Linked DNA regions of Homo sapiens: region 1 is linked to region 2. The links are contacts of gene promoters, found by promoter capture Hi-C in human tissues and cell types (Jung and others, 2019). All regions are on one chromosome and are shown on one strand. Each heading gives the region's core, a stretch centred on a gene start or on the middle of the fragment in contact. The rest is flanking DNA. Distances are from core to core; before and after follow the strand shown.

Region 1 (5,989 bases), core at 1,373-3,872, 81 kb before region 2:
GGCTGAATAGTATTCCATTGTATCTTATATACATTTTCTTTATCCATTCATCCACTGATAAACACCTGGGTTGCTTCCATATCTTGGCTATTGTGAATACTGCTGCAATGAACATGGGACTGCACATACCTCTTAGACAATTTCAATTCCTTTGGATACATGCCCAGAAGTGGAATTGGTGGATTGGTGTACAATAATTTGACATATATTTAAAACATTTCTAGTTTTTCGCTATTACAAATAATGCTGCAATTAATATCATTGTGTATTTCTTTAAGTACTGGTCTTTACATTTCTATCAGATAAACCCCCATAAGTAGAATTTTCAGGCCAGAGAATGTCATTTTAATAAATATTGCTACATTACGTTCCCAAAAAGTAATACTAACTTACAGACCCAATAGTTTGAGAGTAACTTTTCCCCATGCCCTATTAGTACTAGAAATCATATTCACTTTTGTCCATCTGATGGCAGGGGTGGGAGGATGCTATACATTATTAGGGACAGAGAACATCTTTTCATCTGTTCACTGTCCATCTATATTTCACCCTTTTGTGAAATGCCTGTTCCAATCCTTTGTCCTTGATTCTGTTGGTTTGTCTTCTTATTTGTACTAACTTGAGATGTCTTTTATCAAAGTTTTAAAATTTTTTCGGCAATCAAATCTGCCAATTTCTTCTCTTATGGATTATGAATTCTTAAGTTTTGCTTAGGCCTCTTCTGCTATCCAAGGATTATTAAAATAATCTATGTTTTCCTCTAATTATTTTATTACAATTTTGTTGTTTTATATTTAGATCTTTAATCAATCTGGAATTTATTCATGTGGTGTAATGACTTAGTAGTTGTTCCAACACCATTTATTGAATTATCCATTTTTAAATGCTTCCTCCTAGAGTAACAGATCACTACAAATAGCTAAGACGGCAGACAGACAAAATGCCTAGAAATTTTTAAACGTCACTACTTAAAGCAGTATCCAAAGTTTATTAAAAGACATTCATCATTTTCTCATTAAAAGAAATCACATATTAGGACACATGCACACAGTGAACCACTCAACATACACTGTGAAGTTTTTTTTTTCAACATAGTAGCAAACTAAATTAAATCGCTGATCTAACTATATAAGCCTGATTTTGTTTCAACATAAATGGTAAAAGCAGAAATAATCATTGCTTGAAATCTCAAGATTAGTCATTGATTTGGGTCGCAAATATTTATTGAGCACCAACTGACTATGGATACAATGGGGAACAAAACAAGTTTGATCCCTACTTTCAGGAAGCTTGCAATCTAGTAGGAGCTTCTCTCCTCTAAAAAATAATGTTTTTAAGTGAAGAAGGAAAAAAAAGAAATGTACGTTCACACAAACGCAAAGCAGTGAAAAACATTCCGGCAAATTTTATGACACATTCTGTACTTCCCATTTCCAAAATACTATCTTATTACTTCAAATGTACCTATTTATTGTGGTGACTGTCTTCATTACTGTACTCATGTTGAAAACACTGCTAGGGAGTTATGACTAATTCCATTAGCCTCTATCTCAAAGTACCTATGTTTAGTCTCCTCACTTTCTCAACAATATTTAATTTCTTTCATTACAATAAATAAAAACCTCAATAAGAGAAATTACAAACCTATATACATCAGTCATGTTCAGTCCACCGACTCAAAAGTATTTCTTTAAAGTACATGCAGATTTAAAAATTTTCCATGAATCCGCGCGGGCGTGGTGGCGGGCGCCTGTAATCCCAACTACTCGGGAGGCTAAGGCAGGAGAATCGCTTGAACCCGGGAAGCGGAGGTTGCAGTGAGCCCAGGTTGTGCCACTGCACTCCAGCCTCGGTGACAAAAGAGAAACTCCGTCTCAACAAATAAATAAATAAATAACTCCTAGAGTCTTAGCAAATGGCACTACTGTGTCGCTGGGAGACGAAGCAAGAAGTCTGGTGTTCCCTCAACAATAGGTAACAACTGATTAGTGACAGTCACCTTAAACTTTTTGAGTACCAAGACCCAGAAACTGCCACCACTCTTAGACTGAAGCGTTCAGATGCTTGCCCCTGTGGTAACGCCCCCCACCTCAATCCCAATCCAAGGCCTCCCCCTCATACTCCAGCACCTCCCAACTGAATGGGGAGGTGGGACAAAGTACCGCCCAAGGGAAGGAGACGGGACTCCTGCTCCTGCGGGGTGACCTTGGCCAAGTGTCTCCTTCTCAGTTTTCCCATATGTGAGATAAGGTTGGTAGTCCGTGCCCGCCTCCACCATCCGGGCCGGGTTCAGCGTATAATGCCGCAAGGCTGGAGGAAAGCTCCAGCCCTGTACCCCACGCGGCTCCCCGAGACCGCGCCGCCACCTTCTGGGTCTGCGGCCAGCCGCGCTACCTGCAATCTGGGAGACGAAGGCTTCCGCCACTAGAGACATGTCGGCTGGGAGGCCCGGCGCCCGGGTGCCTGCCCCCCACGGGCCTCAGCGTCCTCCACCGCAAACCCGGAGGCTCTCGGCAGTTAACGAGCCTAGCCCCGCCAACGTTCAGACTCGCAAAGCCCACTCCAACAGCAGCGGCGGCTGCAGTGAGGCCCCCAAGGTTACCGCCAGGCCTGGCTAGGGACTTCCGGCGCAGCCGACAACGGCACTCGAGCGCTTCCGCCGGCCCCGCCCCCGCGCCGTCCTACGGGGCGCCGGCGCGGCTAGCTCCGTCCAGCCAATTCCAGGCTCTGCGCTGGGGGCCCGCAGGTGGAAGCGAAGTACCCGACTCGTCTCCCACCCAGGGGACTGGCAGGGGAATCTGGGAGATTTTTAGCGTCCTTTCTGTAAGCCAGAATTTTGTAACCGAGTAACATTTGTAAACGCCCACTGGATACCAGGCACTTATATACCTATATCTACACACACATATATACATATATACACACACACATACACACATATATAATATATACACGTATATATGTACACATGTACATATATACACATATATACATATATATACACATATATTCTATTTGACTTCGTCTTCTCAACAACCCATTAAAGTAATAATATTATCGCCATTTTACGGATAAGAATATAGGCTTAAGGAGTTTAAACTGCCTGCCCAGGCAGTCCTCCAAGGACCAGATTCAAGGCTGCATGAATTCCCTCTATTCCATTATATTGCTGGGTTGATTAGTCCGTGGATAGACATTAGTGTTTTTTGTTGTTGTTGTTTATTCAAACATGCTTGGCAGAAAGGAGGCTTGAGCAGCGCCTAAGCCAGAAGGTAATTTGTCCTTCAACTCCATACACCCGAAATGATGCTCAGCTTGGAGAATAAGATACTTTAGTTTCACACACTTCTCACCTTTCGGGGGTGAACGGGGCAGGAAGAGGAGAAACTAAATTCCCTGAGTAACTTTGTCTTAACCTAATAGCTTCTTAAATTACACAATTAAAGAAAAATCATATGCATTACAGATTGGTGGTATTACAAGTGGGACAGGCTTCAGAGCTGGTAACCCAAAGCCCCCTTCACTGATGAGAAACAAGTTCAGAGAGGTGAGGTAACTCATTTTAAATCACACAGTAAATCAAAAAGTCAGACAGCTTACTAGGTTTTTGCAGAGGAAACCTGTATTCTAAGAATTACTGTCCATGACATTTAGAAAGCTATATTTCCATTCTTTATATCCGTAGATCTCTATTACTGTTCATTCTGCCTCCTTAACTAGCGTGGTTGGTTTCCTAGAGCTGCCAGATTACCACAAACTGGTTGGCTAAACAACAGAAATTCATTCTCACAATTCTGGAGGCTAGAAGTCTGAAATCAAGGTGTCAGCAGGGCCATGCTGTCTTGCAAGGCTCCAGAGAAGGGGGTTGCCGGCAATCTTCCATGTACTTTGGCTTGTAGATACATCACTCCAATCTCTGCCACCACATCACACGGCATTCCCCCTGTGTGTCAATGTGTTCAAATTTCTCTCTTCTTGAGAAATAACACCAGTCATTGTGTTAGGGACCCCCACCCTAATCCAGCAGGACCTCATCTTAACATGATTTCTTTTCTTTTCTTTTCTTTTTTTTTTTTTTTTTTTTTGAGATGGAGTCTTGCTCTGTCACCTAGGCTGGAGTGCAGTGGCGTGATCTCGGCCCACTGCAACCTCCACCTTCCAGGTTCAAGCGATTCTCCTGCCTTGGCCTCCCAAATAGCTGAGATTACAGGTGCGTGCCACCATGCCCGGCTAATTTTTGTATTTTTAGTAGAGACCGGGTTTCACCATGTTGGCCAGGCTGGTCTCGAACTCCTGACCTCATGATCCGCCCGCCTTGGCTTCACAAAGTGCTGGAATTACAGGCGTGAGCCACTGTGCCCAGCCCCATAATTTTTTTAAGGTTAAGTCATATTTTCATCTCCCTCAGCAAAAGGAAGCTTCTTAAACAGCATTTAAATTTACCCAATAATTTACATTGACATAAACACAGCAGCGTCTTAGGAAGTAGTGTCTTCTCTATAGCTGAAATTCAGAGTTGACAAGCAGCTGTGAATAGTAGAAATACAGGGAAGATAATATTAATAGGTTTTTCTTGTTTGTGCAGAGAGAGGTAACACTGATAGTAAAGAATACATGAGATCCAATTTCCTCCTCATCCCATAGGTATTATTGACCAAGAGAAATGAGCTGTTCCAGATACTTTGTTATCAATCAAAAGAAAAGCTTTCAGGCCCTGTCTGTTCTCCTCACAGTGGAGAATTATGTATAACTGTAATAATGAAGAAGACATATCATCACTTTAAGTTCTATTATTAATTTTGGTTTGTCATTTTTATAAAGCTGAAGACACAATATTTTGACTACTTTTTGACAGATTTGAAGTTTAAGATTTCTCCATATCATAGGGCCTGTGTGAGAACTTGAGCCAAAGTCCCTAGAGAGTAATGAAGATTCAACTGGGGAAACCAAAATCAAACATATCCAAAGGGTAGAAGTGAGCCCCAAAGTGGAAGAGACTGGAAAGAGCCAGAGACTGGACACAGATGCAAGAGAAACAGAGCAAGATTAGAGGCAAAGTAGAATGTGCCCTTAAAATTTAAGTTAAGTACCCATGGCTTGATGCATGATACATGCATGAACTGAGCTGGCTGGAAGGTACTGGTTTGGGACTGACACCAATCATCTTTATTATGGCAAGTGCCTTAGTCCATTAGGGCTGCTATAACAAAATATCTTAGTCTGGATAATTTATAAACAGAAATATACTGCCCTGACTTTCGGAGGTTGGAAAGTCCATGATCAAGGCACCAGCAGATTCAGTGTCTTGGGGGTCCCAGTTCTCACAGATAGCACCTTGTACATGTCCTCACATGGCAGAAGGGCAAAAGGGGCAAATAAACTCCCTTGGGCCTCTTTTATAAGGACACTAATCCCATACATAAGGGCAGAGCCCTCTTGACCTAATTACCTCCTAAATTCCCCACCTCTTCTTAATACTACCATAGTGGCAATTGAGTTTCAACATATGAGTTGTTGAGGGACACAAATATTCAAGCCATAGCAGCATGCTTTTTAGAAAAAAACAGAGATGTGCCGGGGGCATTGTCGATACTCAACTCTTTCTTCATTTTAGCCAGGGAAGCAGAATCATCAGCACCATATGGATTCACTTTTTCCCCCTGACTGATGGTTCTTTTGCTTCCCACACAGGCACATTTAGGCTGGAAAGAATCTGTAATGTGGGAGGTCTTTATTACTAAAAATTAAGTTCAGTAAAATGCAGATGTCTTTATGGTGCCCACAAATAAACTGTCTTTGTAATAAATAGCCAACTGGAGAAAATATATTTACGCATCTGTATTAGAACGAACGGCAGATTTAAAACTGAAGATCTGTTTAAGATCACCACAATTGAGGGAAATACAAGAAAACAAGCCACCAGAATTTTTAAGAATGAGGTTATAAAACAAAAGTGCTGGGGAATCCATATGTTACTAAAAAAATAATT
Region 2 (6,535 bases), core at 3,969-6,468:
TAGATAGAGGTAAAAACCATGAACATCTTTGTTTCTATTTAGACGGATATTTATCTTCGTGAGATATGTCCACTATGGTTTTACTTTAAAACCACAAATAAAGTTTTAACAATGGGCATTTTTCTTGTTGAGAGGTCTGTGGTCAGACTAAACAACTCTCGGAAACTGATTAGATCCTGAGGTTTTCAAATTCAATATTCAGCAAATATAGATCATTTCTTTGGCCATAAGGAATAATTAAGAACTTCAGAGCTAATGCAACTCTCCTGAGCCTGCTTCTGTTTTTTTTGGATGACACGATAATCAGACAGCCTTTTCTGGTGTTGGTCCTCACCATATTTGAGATTGAGGCAGCATAAATCACACACAATTAATCTTTTGAAACTCTAGGTGACATTGCTTTAGGTTTTTATATCAGCAAAGCCTTCATTTGCTAGTACTCAACTTATGGGAATTTTATATATTATTAAGTGCTTTCCTTTTCCTCACTCCCAATTATCCTGATCCAGAAAAGTAGACACATGGTCATTATGTGAAGACAAAGGAACATTGAATAGTTAATTATACAACAGCCAGAACTGTCCACTGTGTATTCATCCTTGTAACAGATCACTGGAGGGTAAATTAGCATATTTAGTTTGAAATCTTGTAAAATAGAAACGGGATTGTTTGAGTAGTTGCAGTTTACATAGTAACCTCATACTTCATGGAGATCTGACTCAAAATAACACAAGGCTCAAAATAATAGGAAAAGGAATGCTCTGTAAATGATCCACATTGCCTAGGTACCTCCACTGACAACATGTATTTGATAGTGTCTAAAATCCTCTTTTCCTGTATAAACACAGTATCACTGTAATCCTAGACAGCACATTTGCTTTCTCTTAGAGCCTAACTCCCTTCAAATGATAGGTCTAAAATAAAATATGCAGAAGTCATTAAATTGTAGCATTTTCATTGTTGGGAGGGACCTCCAGAGGTCACCTAGTTCATCCCGATCTCCAGCCAGGACTCTTCCTAATACTGAATATAGCTGTACAGTGATCTGCATTAAGAAAGCTTTTAAAGATCCCTGGGGTTGGGCAAAAAATAGCTAATATTGGCCTGATTCATAGAATAGCATTATACGAATGTCATAATAGCCACCTTCATCAAGGAAGACATCCATCAGGGCTAAGTGCTAGTACTAGCTTCAGAAGGAAAAGCTTTATTTTCTCAGAGAAAAGGGTGGTAGATTAAGGAAATGACCCAGCATGTTGGTATTTTGTTGTTGTTGTTGTTTAGGTGTACATTTAAATGCTTATCAAAAAGGAAACATTGTCATGTCAAAGACCACTGCAGGGGAAGCCCAGAGGTGGCTGTAAGCAAGCAGATCACAAGTCCTTTAACAAGTTCTTTCAAATAGCAGTAGAGCTCAGAGGGGGGCTGTTGTTTCAAACAAGATTCAATTAGCATCAAGTTATTAAAGGGCAGCCGGGGAAACAAGAATAATATTGACAGACCTGCTTTTTAAGCAGTATCTTTTCCCTCTAATCAGCTGAGTTTGTTGGAGCTGATCATTTTATTTCTTCAACTCCATTCAACTATAGGTGCAAAGAATGAGAACTTCAGTGTAACTCCAATTTTCTAAGAGAACTAATCATATTGCTGCTTTATAAAAAAGGTAATCTTTCACAGTTGCTTAGATTTATGAATAATTAGATTTAAAGCATTATACTGGAATCTAGAAATCTAGCTAAAAGAGCTGAGGTTCTTATCTGAATTATTTGGGCCGTTAGCCCTTCTGTTGAACTATAGAAAGAACTTAAAGATATAGTTGTAAAATAAGGACGTACTCCCCAAAACTGTCCCAAGTATCCACTTGATTCTGTATCTTTATATTGCATCTTTTTCTCATATTTCTGCAAGTTTACATAAACTCTGGTCAACTATGAATGCCTCCCGGGATGAGAAATGGGAGTTTGGGTGAAATAGATTAGAGAATAGGTTTTGGGGTTTTTTTTAACCACATACTCTCTTGTCAACTTTCAAGTTTTGTGCTTGTACCTCTTCCAAAGTATTCATTTGAAAATATTTCATTTTTGAAATCAGAAAGGCACTGTCTGTGCTCTCTCTCCGCCAGATACTCAGTCTGGGTTACAGGAAGTAGAAATTTGTGACTACTAGCCTTTCCCAGCCTCCTTTGTAACTCTTGACTTTGGAAATGGGAATTCAGCCACTGAGAACTTTTTGATGTGCAGCTGCCTTTCTCAGGGAACACTAACCAAGAAACAAAGTCTTCAGGTCACCTTTCCTCTTCCTTTTGTGAGGACAGGAGACAAAAGAACAAGATCTCCCTGAAGTGTCTCCTTGGCTTTACAACATTCCACAGTAGGCACCTAACACTTGAGTTAAATGTGCAGACTACACACCTACCATAAAATTAGGGCACTCAAGGTAAGGAAAGTATTTCCATAGTTACTTGGATATTTGGCAGAGTAGTTTTCTCTCTTAAACTACTAATTGCCCATAACTTGCTGGGTGTGTACACAACCTGTAGGAAGTATTATTTTTAAAAGTTATCGGCTGGGCGTGGTGGCTCACGTTTGTAATTCTAGCACTTTGTGAGGCCGAGGTGGGCGGATCACCTGAGGTCAGGAGTTCGAGTCCAACCTGGCCAACATGGTGAAACCCCGTCTCTACTAAAAAAAATACAAAAAATTAGCTGGGCATGGTGGCTCATGCCTGTAATCCCAGCTACTGGGGATGGTGAGGCAGGAGAATCACTTGAACCTGGGAGGCAGAGGTTGTGGTGAGCCAGAATTGTGCCACTGCACTCCAGCCTGGGCAACAGAGCAAGACTCCGTGTCAAAAAAAAAAAAAAGTTATCAACATAAACAAATTCTCATAGCAGAATCAAGAAAATTCAAATACAGGAAACTGAATCAACTTTAAAGAAAGAGAATCATTATTAAAGAGTGTAAGAAAAGCAGAGAGCAGCAGATTCTATAATTTTTATTACAAAAAAAACCCTTTACATGCTATGACATTAAATGTCACTTATAAGGTCATTGCAAGCAAATCTTTTTAAAAAATATACATACTGTATATATTTACATTCAAGTTTGAATAATATTTGTCAAGATATAGTTCAGATTCTACTCTTTACCCATTCTGTGGATTTGTTCATCTAGTAACTAAACAGCGATTGTATCATCACTCAGGCACATAGAGAGGTAGAAACCGCTTTTTTAAAGAAAAAAAAACTGGAGTGCAAATGTGAAGATCACTGAAGCAGCTTAGCTACATCAAGGAGACCCTAACTAGCTTTGGTCATCTCAAAAAGCTGAATATATGTAGCCTTGTCCTTTAAATTAAAACCAGAAAAACTTTGGGCAGGTGCTCTTCTGAGCACATCAGAGTGCTGACAGAACTCAGCAACTAATGGTCTGCCACTCTGCAACGCGAATTGCACATGACTAAGTGAGGCAAAGATAGCAGCGGAGCTGGGCTGGCAGCTGGGCACCTTTTCCCTGATAAGACACAAATCATAACCAAACAAGTGGCTTACAAGACAGTCAATTAATATCTGGACATATAGTCTGGAACTCGGAAGCCAACTAAAGTACTTCATTTCCCAAGTGAAATCCCTATTCATTTTTGTTCTCCCACCTCCATCCCAAACTGAGCTCCTAAGTCTAGATAGGGATGGGGGTCGCCTGGGACTTCTGCAGGCCACAGTTTTTCGGCCCCAAGTACCGGCCTCACGAAGGCTCTTGGGACTGAGAAGGGCTGCCGGGGTTCTTGATAAACTTAGTGGGGGTTGTTCCAGAGAGGGGAAGTTGGAGGGGAGCCACAGGAATGGCCGTGGCCAGAAGCCCTTCTCGTTCCCTTTTCTTCTGTTTCATCCTGCGGTTCTGGAACCAGATTTTGACTTGCGTGTCATTCAGGTGCAAGCAGTTGGCTATCTCGATGCGCCGGGCTCGAGTTAAGTACTTATTGAAATGAAACTCTTTTTCCAGTTCTGTCAGTTGCTTGGTGCTGAAATTCGTGCGGATCGCGCTGGAGGGGCTAGCGGCCCCATACTCGGCGAGTTTGCCTGCAACGTAAAGACAGGGCGTCAGCCAGGCCTGAGGCCGGGGACAGAATGTGGGTGAGCAGTGGAGCTAGTTAGAATCAAAGTCCCAGCGCAGCCCTCCTGGGTCCCTAGGAACAGAATTTGTACCAGGAGAAGTTCCACGGAGAGCTCCTTCCTGAAATTTTCTCAATGCCTGGCACATTTTCCGAATCTGTACTCGAGGCAGACTCCATGGAATTCGCCCGGGAACGCGTCTCCTCCACAAAACCCAAACCGCTGTCTGGAAAGGCAGCGACACCACGCTCCCAGCGCATTTCCGCGGGGGAGGCTCCGTCCCCAACCCCAGGTGGCCCCATCCAAGGCCCGCGGACTTACCTTTCTTAGAGGCATTCCTCTTCACTTTCATCCACTCGAACGTGCTGAAGGCGGCAGGGAGGCCGGAGGCGGGAGAGACGGACTTGGGGTAGGTGCCTGGGGCCGGGGATGCGGTCTGGAAAGCACCAGGGTGGCCGTCGGCTGACGCTTTGAGACAAGCCGGAAAAGGGCCGGGTTCGCCGAAGGCCGCGTAATCCACCTGGCCGCTGAGGAGGAAAGAGCCGCCGCCCGAGAAGACGGCCGAGGTGGCGTAGTGGACGTGAGACCCGCCGTCGTCGGCCGCCCGCCCCAGCACGCCCGGGAAGTCGTACGCCGGCCCGGACCCCAGGAAGCCGTAGTCCGCGCCCCCAGCTGCCGCGGCAGGTGCGGCACCAGGTTCGTAGGCCCCCTCCAGGGTGCACTGCGCGTACTGGGGCGCGGCCGGAGGCGGTACGGACGGCCGCGCGGGGGCGGCCGGGGGCGAAGGCGAGGGTCGGGCGGCGGCCAGGGGCAGACAGCTGACGAAGGCGCCGTCGCCGTTGCCCAGAGGGAAGGCGGGCTGCAGAGCCACGGGCCGGGCGTCGGAGCGGCAGAACTTGGGTGCCAAGCTGAGCACGTCGCCGCCGACCCCGCCGCTGCTGCTGCATGACACGTACTCCAGGTAGGAGCTCATGGTTCGGGCCCCACCTTTCTGAGGGCGCAGGCCGGGGCCGGAGTACGGAGCCGGGCAGAGGCTGAGCAGGACTGCCGCCGTCTGCGCCGCTCCGCCAGCCCTCTCTACCCGAGCTGCCCTCTCCAACCCATGGCGAGTGAGCCGGAGGTAAATAGTGGCCTAATATACCGGCGGGGGCGGCCACGTGGCGCTGGCCGGCCAATGGGCGGCCTCTCCGCTCGGCCCGGTCGGCGCGCCGCTCCTCGCGCCTGCCCCGCAGCCAAGTTAGCCAAAGCAGCCCAGGGCCGCCGCCCAGCGCCCCCGAGCCCCGAGGAGAGCCGTCGCGACCGGGGGCTGCCTGGGCAAGGGCGGGGCGAGAGGGCAGAACGCCTGCTCTCGGACAGGTATTGGGCGAGGTGGGGGGAGAAAGGCAGGACTGGACGCTTGGGTGAGGGCCCGTGGATGCAGCGGGGCGAGCCGCTTCTGCTCTGGATCGTGGGGGGGGCTAGTCCCTCGAGGGCGGAGTGTGGGCGTCGCGGCATGGAAAAGGTTAAATGGGAGCGTGACGCGCGGCCGGTGGAGACTGCTCTTCGCCCACCTCCAGGACAGATAAAGTTATTCCTCTTCCCCTCTTCTGAGTCCTCTGCGCTTTCGGTTTGCTTGGCGCTGATGTTATCCCTCTTCTAAACCTAGAGCAGATGTTTGGTTTTTTCCTTTCTTCCCCCTTTCCTAGGACTCATGGAACTACATCTTATGCTGTGAGTGCTGTGTGCCTAGGGCGGGACAAAATTTTCACTTTTTGACTAGGCTTCCTTTTAACGTGACTTTGCAGCTTTCTTCTATCCCTCGCAATTTGTGGCGGCGTGATGAGGGCCAGTGTTGTAGTGCCAGATTTTGATAAAGTTTCTGCCTTGTGGGGTGGTTTAGCAGATTTTCCCCTCCGGCTGGGTTGTTGGAATAAAGAATCCAGAGTGGTGGTGGAACACTCCTTATGCTCCTTTCTGGGAGACTGGCACAGGCACCGGTGCGGCGCTTGCTTTCACTGAGGAGCTTGTCTGGAGGGCGCAAGGGCTTACCGGGGACGGGTGAGATCTCAGAGGTTTAGATGGACTTGTACCTCGAAGCAATTAGAGCTTCTGCTCCATCAGATAAGTGCTGCATCGTCTCTTGTGAGTGAAATCTGAGGGCTCACAATGTTAATGGGCTCACGTCTTTCCCTTGATAATATGGTTTTGTTTACTGAGTGTAGAGAGACGGGAAATAAAAGTGCAATTGCCACAGGAAATGAAGAGTAGAAAGGTTACAAAGACCAGCTTTACATTGACAAACTTTCCAACTTCCTTTAGTATTTCTTTTAATGTTCCCTTTTGAGGGGACTGTAGGAAAATTACAAATTAGATAAATAGAGGTTATTTACACACAGTAGTTATGAAAGAGGGTGGTTTCCTAAAACCCTGTGTGAATAAAGACTC

The links. The method cuts DNA at HindIII sites, captures the fragments that hold promoters and counts their contacts. A contact is called where the count stands out against the background at its distance.
Region 1: the fragment with the promoter of MTX2 here is called in contact with the fragment with the promoter of HOXD1 in region 2 in 1 of the 25 tissues and cell types used here (adrenal gland).

What each region holds. Positions count from the first base shown.
Region 1 is chr2:176,266,075-176,272,063 of GRCh38, reverse strand. It overlaps MTX2 (metaxin 2), which reads right to left and starts at 2,622. Exons shown (of 10, transcript NM_006554.5): 1 at 2,395-2,622. The coding sequence starts at 2,434. RefSeq lists enhancers at 1,728-2,353, 2,354-2,981 and a silencer at 2,686-2,775. The HindIII fragment of the contact is 8,349 bases long and covers 1-5,989 here.
Region 2 is chr2:176,187,351-176,193,885 of GRCh38, reverse strand. HOXD1 (homeobox D1) reads right to left here and starts at 5,218. Exons shown (of 2, transcript NM_024501.3): 1 at 4,433-5,218; 2 at 2,979-4,078. The coding sequence starts at 5,084. The coding sequence ends at 3,744. It overlaps HAGLR (HOXD antisense growth-associated long non-coding RNA), which reads left to right and starts at 4,928. Exons shown (of 3, transcript NR_033979.2): 1 at 4,928-5,072. It overlaps MIR7704 (microRNA 7704), which reads right to left and starts at 5,043; the gene lies at 4,985-5,043. RefSeq lists an enhancer at 1,076-1,616. The HindIII fragment of the contact is 12,505 bases long and covers 332-6,535 here.